Linked DNA regions of Homo sapiens: region 1 is linked to region 2. The links are contacts of gene promoters, found by promoter capture Hi-C in blood cells and fetal thymus (Javierre and others, 2016). All regions are on one chromosome and are shown on one strand. The core of a region is centred on a gene start or on the middle of the fragment in contact, and the rest is flanking DNA. Distances in the headings are between cores, read along the strand shown.

What was found. Contacts are between HindIII fragments. The CHiCAGO score rates a contact against its expected background, and 5 or more counts as called.
Region 1: a contact is called between a fragment that was not itself captured here and the fragment with the promoter of CEACAM8 in region 2, in 1 of 17 cell types (activated CD4 T cells). The highest score is 5.3, in activated CD4 T cells.

Annotation. Positions count from the first base shown.
Region 1 is chr19:43,306,033-43,312,195 of GRCh38, forward strand. No RefSeq gene overlaps it. Among named protein-coding and RNA genes, the nearest start is that of LINC03078, 22 kb to the right of the region's middle. The HindIII fragment of the contact is 938 bases long and covers 3,565-4,502 here.
Region 2 is chr19:42,593,665-42,600,301 of GRCh38, forward strand. CEACAM8 (CEA cell adhesion molecule 8) reads right to left here and starts at 1,260. Exons shown (of 6, transcript NM_001816.4): 1 at 1,101-1,260; 2 at 1-236. The coding sequence starts at 1,164. The region is part of intron 2 of LIPE-AS1 (LIPE antisense RNA 1); the gene reads left to right. RefSeq lists an enhancer at 2,593-3,093. The HindIII fragment of the contact is 2,514 bases long and covers 1-1,763 here.

The DNA of each region.
Region 1 (6,163 bases), core at 2,784-5,283, 720 kb after region 2:
GAGTGGGGTGGGAATGTAGGGAGCAGTCACAGAAAAAGTTGATAAGGATGGAAAGAGGTCACAAGGGTAAAGTGCCTAATATGGCATCATGTGGACCATCGCTGCCCTTGCAGATGCCCTTTTGGCTGGGTCAGCAGCCCCTGGGGAGTCTTGTGGCTGGGATTCTGCCATCCTCTGGTGAACATGGGGGAAATTTGGATGACAGCAGCCCCAGGCAAGGCTGCATGTTTTATTCCATGTGAATCTGCACATTTCACAGCAGATTATTCACCTATGTCACAGATCCATCACATTCCAGCCCCATGAGTCTCAGTCTCTGTGACTGTAAGTTCACTATCCTCCCTCTATCACAATCAGATGTCCCAAACACAGATTTCTGTCACCTGTGAGTTTGTGTTTGTGTGCAGTGGGCTGCACTGTGTATGCCCTGGGGACAGTGATGTCTGGGTGGGGCTGAGCACTGGGCAGAGGTTTGGAAGCAGAAGAGGGAGGTGCAGGGCAGGAAGATCAATGACAGAGGAGCAGAGAGGGAGCAGGGACAAGTCATCTTTGTTTCTCACTCCCAGGGGACCAAGAATGCAGGACCCTGACCTTAGGGCTCAACACCACACACTGTTGGTGTCCGTGGATGTCACCAGTGCTCGTAATTTCATGTTGCCTTGGCATTCATTTATTAAGGTGTAAGTTTACCTGCTTTATATCAGAGGCAGGGCTTGGTCACCGTGACAGTTCCCAATACTGTACCTGGCCAAATGGCTGCAGTTGGTGGCCAGAGATAAAATCTTAGAGGCATCTCTCCTGCTTAGTGTGCTGGGCTCCCCCTCTACCCAGCTGCTTCCTTTAAACTGACGGTTGTGAAATTTGCCCTGAAATTTAAAGTGACCACCTCTCAGTCACAGCGTGGTCACCTGGCCCCAGTGTTTGCTTGCTTTAAACTCACCCATTAAAGCTTTCTGCTGGAAACCTCAGCTAACGCCTTGGACCCACTAAAGCCATTGGCCTACAGGTCCCTACTTTCCTCTCTGCCTGGACTCCTTGACCTCTGTGTCTATTATCTCTAGGTGTGCCATGTGCTCCTCAGAGTCTGTAAATAGCAAAAAAAAAATTTGTACTTTCACATTGTGGTTGTATCACTATAGCCTCACCTGCCATCTGGTGCCTGACATTGAGGCTGCCCCATGGGACCCATGCTGGTTGAGCCCCTGCTGGAGCTCTTTTCTTGGGGTCTCTGGTGCTGCTGGGGACAGGCACTGTCAGGTGATTTGATGGAGAAATGGAAGAGTTTTATTCAAAACAGTGTGTCAGATGATGTTTTCATGGGCTTCAGCTGCTGTAACAAACACCTTAGTCTGGGTGACTTAAAATTTAGAAATCTATTTCTCATAGTTCTGGAGCCTGGGAAGTCCAAGTTCAAGGTTCCAGCTGATTCAGTCCTGGTGAGGGCTTCCTTGCAGATTCCTGCTCTCTTGCTGTATCTGCACATGGTGCAGGCTTGAAGGTGGGTGGAGAGACAGAAAGAGGTAGAGACCCTTCTCCCATGTTTTCTTCTATTTATAAGGTCATTAACTCTATCATGAAGCCTCCACTTTTATGACTTAGTCTTACTGTAATTATCTCCCAAAAATGCCACCTCCAAATTTCATCACATTAAGGATGAGGGCTTTAACAATTTTGAGGGGGCACATTCTGTCTGGAGCAGGAAAGGTGGGAGCTCCTTCCCCTCCTGTTCATGAGGCCTGACCTTCCCTGGTGAGATAACTTCACATTCAGTCTCATTCTAGGTTGCAGCTCCACAGAGCCTGGGTTCTCCTCTGCTCTTCTGCCCATTCCTGGGTTTTCCTTCTTGCACCACCTTCTCCCTGTGGCCCCACCTGCTCCTGTTCCAGGCAGCTGTCCTTGCGTTGCTGCTCTCTCACCATCTCTGGCCTCACTGGCCTCTGCCTTTTTTTTTCTCAGCCCTGAGGCCAGCTCCATGGGAGGGAGGAAGGGTGAAGCTGGGATGGGTTCTGACCAGGTTGCTGCCCGCTATGGAAGCTTGACAATGAGGGACGCTGTTGTGTCACCATGGAGGAGTCCTTAGGAAAAGGCTATTTCTCAGGGGTGCCTGGATCAAAAGGGGGGTGGCACTTTTAATTTAGCTGGATCTGTGAACTACAGGGACTCTGCTCCATGTCAGCAACCAGCACCTCCAACTTTTGGTTTCTCTCTGTAGCTGATTGTCTTGCCTGTGATAAGATCCTCCTCACAATGACTGATGGTCACAGCCGTGTGTGGAAACTTAATGGAGGGTCTTGAATGCTCACACAGAGTGTCCAGGGAACATGCTTCCTGATGTTGAGAACGGGTGCTCAGTGTCATAAAGATAAACACTGAGACAAAGGATCTCTCAGAAAGGCTAGTTTACTTTCTGCAGAAAGGGTGTCACTCGCTAGCAGTCTTGCCATGACAGCACACACAAACAAAGGAGACAGGGTCATTTATAACCTGACCCGTCCACCCTACTGCTATGTCCAGCTTCTATTGGCTGGAACGGACCTCCCAATTTGTACTTGACTTGATTGGCTAGCAACTTAGAACTTTCCCAAAGAGGCAAAGGCAGAGAATAAAGGAAGAGAGGAATTAACTTGTGGAATGCTGAGAGAGGCAAAAACATTTTCAAGTAGGGAAAGGAATAAGCCTGACCTAATGCTTGCTTGGACTGGTTCAGGCATATCAGGGCAAATATCTAAGCTAAAATGTGGGGTCTAAGAACACAGAGTATATTGATTTCTTTATTATGGCTGGCAGAATTTAAGAATATTAGCACAGGTCTTTGAGAAAATTGTGCTTTTAAGAGAGGTTACTATTTATTTTCAATTAGACTGGGAGGAAAATCCCTTTGAAGAGGACCTCTATTTATTTCATTCTCTACAATTCTCCCCTCTTTTATTTTATAATTACTCTTCAAACTTGTTTAATATGTTTTGACTTAATTGCTCTGTTTGTCCTTTTAAGAGAAGTAATCTTTTTGAATATGGTGGAGAGTTAGGAAACAATTTTGTGAGAGTAGCAGGGACAAGTTTTTGTATAAAGCTTTGAAAACATTTTTATTTATAGTTACCCACCAGAACAACAAAGATTTAAATCTCACAGCTATTTGATTTCGTGCTTTAAATTTATCTGGCACTTCTTGCGGGACCCCAATAGTGTTTATGTAAACCTGAGGATTAAAGGATTTATAAAGAGTTTCTTTGGGCCTGCAGTGTTTTGTTTTTACTTTTTTTTTTTTTAAGGCTGATAAAATGCCAGGGTGAAAGGGATAGCCAATTGGATTAGAGCATAAATACTCCTCCAATTATCTGGCAGAGTGTCCAGTAAAGGTCCTTCACAGTACTAGCATACATTTGCTCAGGGGTGGCTAAGCACAGACTGATGGGCAAGCTCCTGGAAAGGCTTGAGCTTCTTGCATCCTTTTATGCTTCCAAGGAACACCAAATTCTCCACTTGCCATGGGAGGCACGAACTAAACTTGGCATTTAGAGGTGGAAGCTGGATTGCCCTTGGGGGCTGACCCACAGGGTGTCAAGCTTTAGGAAACAGCAGAGAGAGAGCTCAGCATGATGGATTATCCCAAGCAGTGGGATTTTGGTAGGATTTAGCCTGTGGTAGAATCCTCCTCACAATGACTGATGGTCACAGCTGTGTGTGACCATATGGTCCATACCTGGTTGATGAGGAGACCATCCGAGTGGAAAGGGGACAATCTGGGCGTCTGTGCACAAGCATAACAATCACTGTTATTTAAAGTGCAGATGGAATATTTAATCCATTCCAGCCGGGCATTTGCATTTTGATACATTGTCTTAATGGCTAAGGTTTGTTTTAGATCTTTCACCTTTGCAATAGACACCGTAGTTTTATTATAGGTGTAGGAGTAAGTGGGATGGGATCTAAAACTGAGGCTACTGAAGAAGGGGAAGATGGGGAATAATGCATATCTAAAAAATGCATAGGGGGTGTTTCCCATTTAGGTCGATCCCCATACCATAGAAGCAACTAAGAGTAGGTTTAGAGTCAGTTAAGGTGGAGGTGGTGATAGAGAGAAGGACAGTGTTACACTGATAAGGCTGGCAATTAGAAGGCGTAGTCCCTTTAGTGAGGGGTTTTAGATCTGCACAAACCTCTTCCGTGGAAGTCCAACCTTGCACCTGAGTAGTCCATAGGATGTAGTCCCAGCTACTACAAGGTTGCCAGGCTATAGGAGCAGAAAATTGGTGTCTCGGCTGCAGGTATTCACAACCATGAGTGCTAGGAGGAACTATGTCAACTAGAGGGCCGGAGCATAAATATTTGTGTGAAAAAGCTAGCTGTCATTGATCCTTCACATCTTTACAAGGTATGACAGAGCATGCATTAAAGGCAATGGTCTGAGATGAGTCAGACTTAGTTATGTTAATAACAAAAGGAGCTAGTAACAGAATAAGGAAAGGAAAGGAAGCAATATAGAAGGGATATGGAAATTAAGCTTTTGGTTTTTTTTAACTTTAACTTGTTAAGGCTTGATCCCGGTACACTAACCTATGATTCTGATGAGGAAGATGATTTCTTGACTTAAGTATGGTGGGTCCATCTTCTCTTGGCTGTGCGGATGGCAGTCTTGGTGGTCAACTGTACAGGATAAGGGCCTTCCCAGGCGGGCACAAGTTTCCCTTCTTTTTACCCTCTGATGAGAACATGGTCCCTGGGTTAGTGCTGGTGAGCTAGAAATTCTAGCGGTGGTGTCTGTGCTAAGAGATCTTTTATCTTAAGAGAAGAAAAGGTAGCGGAGAGACCAAGTATATAATTTCTGAGGAACTGATCCTTAGTTTCAAACATAGGAACATTAGCTGAGGAATGTAAATAAGGCAATCCATATAACATTTTATATGGAGACAGGCCTGTATCCTTTTGGGGAGCTGTCCTGATCCTTAATAAGGCAATGGGAAGACATTTGGTCCATGGTAAATGAGTTTCTAGAATTAATTTAGTCAGATGATTCTTAAGGGTTTGATTTATTCTTTCTACTTGTCCGGAGGATAAGGGATGCCAGGGAATATGATATTCCCATTTTATGTCTAGCACTTGGGCCAGCTTTTTAATAATATGTGCAGCAAAATGGGTTTCATTGTTTGAGTCAATATTTTCTATTATTCCAAACTTGGGTATAATATGCTCAATTAATGGTTTTACCACATTATTGGCAGTTGCCTCGAAAAGGGGATGGCTTCTACCCAGTGGTTAAGGTAATTAATTATTACTAGCAGGTGTTTTAGCCGACTAATGGGTGGCATTTTAGTATAATCGACTTGGACGTTTTGGAATGGTCTTAACTCCGGAGTTCTTCCTCCGAAAGGCAATTTCCTTTCAGCTTGTTTGTCAGCTTTCTTACAGATGAGACAGCCATTTGTGATCTGCCTGTCTAGAATATAAATGCCAATACACCTAAAGACTCTGAGAATCATGTCACATAGGGCCTGGGGACCCCAGTGAGTCCCTTGATGTAAATGGGATAATACTTCCCTCATAAAGGGTTTAGATAGCATCTCTCTTTGATCTGGAAGTATGCAGCTTTCTTATGAATTTTTTTTTTTTTTTGCTTTGGGATTTCAACTAATTTTTCTTTCCCAGCCAGGGAGAAGATAGGCACAACAGTAGGAGAAGGAAGGTGGGGAGTTAAATGAAAAATGGGCATATCTAAGACTGCAGCCTTTTTGGCCATCTGATCTGCAAGGTTATTCCTTCGGCTCTTAAGGGAAAAATCATGTTGATGTCCAGGAATGTGCATGATGGCTATCTACTTTAGTAGCTGGAGATTATCTAAGACATGACTAATGACTTATGAGCAAGTTCTTGGCCCCTACTATTTATAAGACCTTGTTCAGCCTAAATCTTCCCAAATGTGTGTGCTACCCTAAAGGCATACTTAGAATCTGTGTAGATAGTTTCTATCTGATCCTTTAAATATTTTAAGGCCTGACTGAAGGCAAATAATTTACAAGCTTGAGCAGAATAGCTATTGGGTAACCATCCTGATTTAATTTCTTCGAGTGTCTCTCTATCTACTACTGCATATCCACTGTGTTATTCCCCATTAAACACCCAGGGGGACTTGTCTATGAATAGGTGTTGCCCCGATCTATAGAGG
Region 2 (6,637 bases), core at 10-2,509:
TGTCTCTCGATTGCTGTATGCAGGCCCTGGGGTAATCTGTTGATTTGATATTACATATCCTATAATTCGACGGTTGGCATCCACTGTTTCCCCTTTGTACCAGTTGTAGCCACGAGGGTCCTGGGGCAGATTGTGGACAAGTAGAAGAACCTCCTTCCCCTCTGCAGCATTGGATGGCACAGCTTCAATAGTGAGCTGAGCAGTGGTGGGCGGGTTCCAGAAGGTGAAAAGTGAGGCTAGGAGGGGGAGAGAGCATCAAGCAATATTGCAACATATGTATTGGAGTAGAAAAATGGGGACATCAGCTTTGGAGTTTGTGTGTTTTTATGTGTGTGTATGTGTGTGTGTCCTACTGAGTCAATGTCAGCAGCACAGCCCCCATTTCTTCAACACCTCTGACCTTGGCATTTCCCTGGTGGAATCCTCTTCTTCAGGGTTCTGCACGGCTCCCTCCACACTGCCCTCAGATCCTGCTCACATCAGGGCATCCTTGGGAGACCCTTTCTCTGACACCTCCTCTAGAGACACTGGGTCTTCCCTTTCTGACCTTTCCCTGCTGTGTTCCTTCCAGGGCTCCTGTCAGCGCCTGACCTCACATTCTAGATCTCTTTGTCTGTCTTCCTCCCCAGGAGAGTGTGAGCTCTGTGAGGGCAGGGACTTGTGTGGTGTTGGCTGCACCCCAGTGCCTGGGACAGGCTTCAGACTCCTGTGGATGAGTTCCTGAGCATTCCCTGGGCCCTCTGCTTCCTGAGGCTTATTTGCCAATGTCTGACATTGTTGGCTGAGGACAATGTTTCATACCCTGGTTATGCTTTATTTGAAGTGTCATCTGGTATGGTTATTATTATCATTTTTCAAAATGTAGTGGCCAGTGATGATTAACCAGGAATATGGAACACTTGAGATGTTCCTGCCTCTTACCAATTCCAGTTCAATGTGATTTTCCTGTTGTGACCCCTTCCCCTCTCTTGTGTCCTCTCCTCTATTAAGGCTCCAACAGAAGTCCTCTGTCCCCTCTCAGAGCCCCGTCCTCCCCAGGAGACCCCAGCCAGTCACTGTGTTTCCTCCTCCTGTCCTTTCCCAGGAAGTCCTCTCCTCACCTGTGAGCAGGAGCCCCTGCCAGGGGATGCGCCATCTGCAGGAAGGGGCTGAGATGGGCCCCATGGTCTCTGCTGCCTGCGTGTTCTCCTCTGTGGAGATGAGCCTGGGATCCAGAAACTTTCTGAGCACGGCTGTCAGCTGTGCTGTCCTTCCTCCTTTTGTGCTGAGCCTCTTCCCGGGGCAGGAGCACTTCTCAGGCTCATGGGCGGGGTCTGTGCCCAGGACACCTCTCTGTCCCCTCCCCTCTCAGTCCTGCCTCCCTGTCCCTCCTTTCCCTTTATTTTCTGTCTGTGTTTCAGGCCCCTGGGAATTGCTGAGGTCTCTGACTCCTTCAGCAGTGATTCTCTCACCCAACCTCTGCACACACTATGCAGACACACACACACAGAGACACACACATACACAAAGAGACACACACAGTCACACATACACCCTGGAGACTGGGTGAGCACAGCCCTGTGCCCTCAGCATCCTGCAGCCTATGTCTCCAGGTCGGGGTGCACAGTCGCTCCCCCTGCCCTCTCCCATCCCCATCTGGCTCTTCCCTTCAGATCAGGAGGTCAGCGCTCCGCAAGGACCCTGTCACAGGGACACCACCACTGAGCTTTGGGGAGGTGTGTGCTCACTGGTGAGAGGGATCCTCCCCCTCTCTCATTGTGTCAAGCTTGGTTGCAGCTTCCAAGGATGGACATTCAATGCCCTGGATATCCCAGAGGGGACTGTCCTTACTGGTGGTGTGCAGGGCAAATAATCTCTTATGCCTCCTGAGAGAGAGGGCTGTTCTGGTTGGTCAGTGGGGGCTGTGGGCCTAGTGGTCATCAGGGACAGGTATCAGCCATTCTCTTGCTCTTTGGGTTCTGGCAGCTGAGCTGGGGCTCGGGCCTTCCATGTTCTCTCTGACCATCTTGGGTGTCCTCTGTTTTCGCCCGGCTGACTGTCCTGTGGTCACCCCACCTTCCCTATGGTTGGTGCAGCAGGAAGTGGGGAGTTGCCCAGGGGCCCCACAAGACAGTGCTCTCTGAGATCCAGGAGAGGGAGCCTGGGACAGAGCAGGGGCTCAGAGCTGGAGAGACTCATCCCAACTTACTCTGCAGCCAGGATGGGCTCAGCCCTCCCCATGCTGATATCCCCTGGGGTCTGTCCTAAGGGTTTGGACCTGGTCAGGCCCCTCTGTGTAGAGAAAGGATGGGCAGCGGCCGGGGAGCCCGTCTGGGGGGACGTTGCTCACACCTGAGAGGGCAGGTAGGGGTGGGCCATGTTCTGGGAACAAAGGGAGCTCATTCCTTGCCCCCCAGCTTGTGTACATGAGAGAGCGCTGTCCTCCCTCCTGGCTTCACGAAGGACAGCAGGGGGCAGGTGGCTACATCCCAGACAGTGCCTGGGCGTGACCATCACATACTCTCCGAGCCTCCTGGGGTGCAGAGGGAAGGTCATAGGGTGCCTGGCTGATTCCCCAGAGGCACTGTGGGCCCTCAGGCAGCTGTGGTTCTGTCAGCGCTGGGCTCAGCCTGCCATGCCGTAGAGAACAGGACACACGGAGCAGGGGCGGGTATTTAGGGAGCAGTCACAGAAAGAGTTGATGAGGATGGAGGGAGGTCACGAGGGGAAAGCGCCCAGTGTGGCATCCCGTGCACCAGCGCTGCCCTGGGAGATGCCTTAACTAGGCCCAGGGAAGGATTGGGTGTGTGGGGCAGGAGCTGCCTGCAGAGGGGGCGGCCTCATGTTGCCGGCTGCCTGGCTGCAGGGAGGAGCTGACAGAGTCCGTATGGGGAGCTTGGAGGGTAAGGAGGACGTGGGCCGAGGTGCCCTGGTGAGGGTGGACCCTGCTGGGCTGTGGGTTCCGCTGAGGGAGGTCAGCAGCCCCTGGGAAGGCTCCAGGCTGGAGGGACTCTGTCGCCCTCTGGTGGACTGGAAGGGAAGTGTGGGTGGCCGCAGTCCCAGGTCCGGCTGCGTGTTTTATTCCACATGGATCTGCACATTTCACACGAGGTCACCCACATGTTATGTCGAGCTCCATCACATTCCACATCCGTGTTTTTCTCTGTGGCTGATTCTCTGGTGTGATCTCTGAGCCTGTGTTAGTCCTCCTCACAATGGTCACAGCTGTGTGTGGAGATCTAATGGGGTGTGTGTGGCTCATGTGCTCACACAGAGTGTCCTGGGGTCAGGCTTTATGACCTACCCTGCCCCAACTCCACAACAAGATCTGAATAATGCGCCAAGTAAGATAAAGTCAGAATCCATGGGGGAGGGTGAGAGTCCTGGCAGTGCTGAGGTCTGTGTCTCCAGCTTAACTCTCAGTCTCTTTGCAAATACATTTATGTTGTGCATCTGCAGTTGGCTGGGCAGTTTCATGTCTCTGAATCCTTGAATCTCTCTGTGGATAAGGTCATGTAGGGACTGCATGTAAGTGTATGAGGGCTATCTGATTAGGGTGGGTATGTTTTACGTAGTAGGTTTTCTTCACCAAAGACTTTTCAAAAAATTGTGGTAGAGTGTATATATGTACATTCATATATCACCTCCACTTCCTGAGTTCAAGCGATTCTCCTGCCTCAGCCTCCCAAGTAGCTGGGACTACAAGCGTGCACCACCATGCCGGGCTAATTTTTGTATTTTTAGTAGAGGTGGGGTTTCACCATGCTGGCCAGGCTGGTCTCAAACTCCTGAACTTGTGATCTACCTGCCTCAGCCTCCCAAAGTGCTGGGATTACAGGCATGAGCCACTGCACCCGGCCTGTATATCTTCTTTGAAGAAATGTCTATTTGAGTTTTTGCCCATTTATAAACGGGGTGGTTTGTCTTTTTGTTATTGAGTTGTAGCAGTTCTTTATATATTCTGGACAGGAAGCTCTTCTATATGTAATTTGCAAATTTTTTCTCCCATTCTGTGCCTGGTCTTTTCACTTTCTTCATAATGTCCTTTGATGCACAAAAGGCTTGCATCTTCATAAGGCTTAATTTATCTCTTTTTCCTTGTTGTTGCTCATGCTTTTGTGTCATATCTAACAATCCATTACCACATTCGAAGTCATCAAGATCTACCCCTCTTTTTCTTTTTTTAAAAAATATATATTTTATTTACATAGGTTTTTTGGGGAACCGATTGGTATTTGGTTACATGAGTAAGTTCTTTAGTGGTGATTTTTGAGATTTTGGTGCACCCATCACCCAAGCAGTATACACTGAACCCAATTTGTAGTATTTTTTCCCTCACTCCCTTCCCACCCTTTTTACCTGAGTCCCCAAAATCCATTTTGTAATTCTTATGCCTTTACATCCTCATCACTTAGCTCCCACTTATGAATGAGAACATACGATGTTTGGTTTTCCATTCCTGAGTCACTTCACTTAGAATAATAGTCTTCAATCCCATCCAGGTTGCTGAGGATGCCATTAATTCATTCCTTTTTATGGCTGAGTAGTATTCCATCATACACACACACACACACACACACACACACACACACACACACACATATATATACATACCAAGTTTCTTTATCCACTCATTGATTGATGGACATTTTTGTTGGTTCCACATTTTTGCAATTGCAAATTGTGCTGCTATAAACATGCATGTGCAAGTATCTTTTTGTATAATGACTTCTTTTCTTCTGGGTAGATACCAAAAGTGGGATTGCTGGATCAAATGGTAGTTCTACTTTTAGTTCTTTAAGGAATCTCCACACTGGTTTCCATAATGGTTGCACTAGTTTACATTCCCACCAGCAGTGTAGAAGTGTTCCCTTTTCACAACATTCATACCAACATCTATTATTTTTTATTATGGCCATCGTTGCAGGAGAAAGGTGGTATTGCATTGTGGTTTTGATTTGCATTCCCTGATTATTAGTGATGTTGAGTATTTTTATATGTTTATTGGCCATTTATATATCTTTCTTCAAGAATTGTCTATGCATGTCCTTTGCCCACTTTTTGATGGGATTGTTTGTTTGTTTTTTCCTTGCTAATTTGATTGAGTTCATTATAGATTCTAGATATTAGTCCTTTGTCAGATGTATAGATTGTGAAGATTTTCTCCCACTCTGTGGGGTGTCTGTTTACTCTGCTGACTGTTCCTTTTGTCGTGCAAATGCTCTTTAGTTTAATTAAGTCCCAGCTATTTATCTTTGTTTTTATTGCATTTGCTTTTGGGTTGTCATGAACTCTTTCCTAAGCCAATGTCTAGAAGGGTTTTTCTGATGTTATCTTCTATAATTTTTATAGTTTCAGGTCTTAGATTTAAGTCCTTATCAATCTTGAGTTGATTTTTGTATAAGGTGAGAGATGAGGATCCACTTTCATTCTTCTACATGTGGCTTGTCAATTATTCCAGCACCATTTGTTGAATAGGGTGTCATTTTTCCACACTATGTTTTTGTTTGCTTTGTCAAAGATCAGTTGACTGTAAGTATTTGGGTTTGTTTCTGGGTTCTCTGTTCTGTTCTATTGTTTCATCTGCCTATTTTTATACTAGTACCATGCTGTTTTGGTGACTATGGCTTTATAGTATAGTTTGGAATCAGGTAATGTGATGCCTCCAGATTTGTTCTTTTTGCTTAGTCTTGCTTTGGCTGTGTGGGCTCTTTTTGGTTCTATGTGAATTTTAGAATTTTTTTTTCTAGTTCTGTGAAGAATAATGGTGGTATTTTGATGGGAATTGCATTGGATTTGTAGATTGCTTTTGGCAGTATGGTCATTTTCACAATATTGATTCTACCCATCCATGAGCATGGGATGTATTTCCATTTGTTTGTGTCATCTCTGATTTATTTCAGGAGTGTTTTGTAGTTTTCCTTGTAGAGATCTTTTACCACCTTGGTTAGGTATATTGCTAAGTATTTTTTTCCAGTATTGTAAAAGGAGTTGAGTTCTTGATTTGATTCTCAGCCTGGTCACTGTTGGTGTATAGGAGAACTCCATCACATTCCAGACCCATGAGTCCGTCTCTGTGATTGCAAGTTCACTGCCCTGCCTCTTTCACAGTCAGATGTTCCAAATGCAGATTTTGTGTCACCTTCTGTGAGTTTGTGTTTGTGTGCAGTAGGTTGTACTGTGTATGCCCGGGGTGCAATGATGCCTTGAGCTGAGCACTGGGCAGGGGTTTGGGAGCAGAAGAGGGAGGTGCAGGGCGGGAATATCAATGTTAGGGGAGCAGGGGGAGCAGGGACAAATCATCTTCATTTCTTGTTGTCAGGGACAAATTCTGGGGCACAGCACCTGGTTCTGGGGCACAGCAACCCACTGTTTGTGTTCCTGGGTGTTGTGAGTGCTCATAATTTCATGTGTCCTTGGCATCCATTTCTTAAGGTGTAAGCTTAACTGCCTCATATCAGAGGCAGGACTTGGTCACCATGACAGTTTCCAATACTGTACCCGGTCAAAAAGGCTCCAGTTGGTGGCCAGAGATAAAATCTTAGAGGCATCTCTCCTGGGCTCCCCTCCCTCCAGCTGCTTCCTTTAAACTGATCATTCTGACATTTGTCCTCAAATTTAAAGTGACCACCTCTCAGTCACAGTATGATCTCCTTGA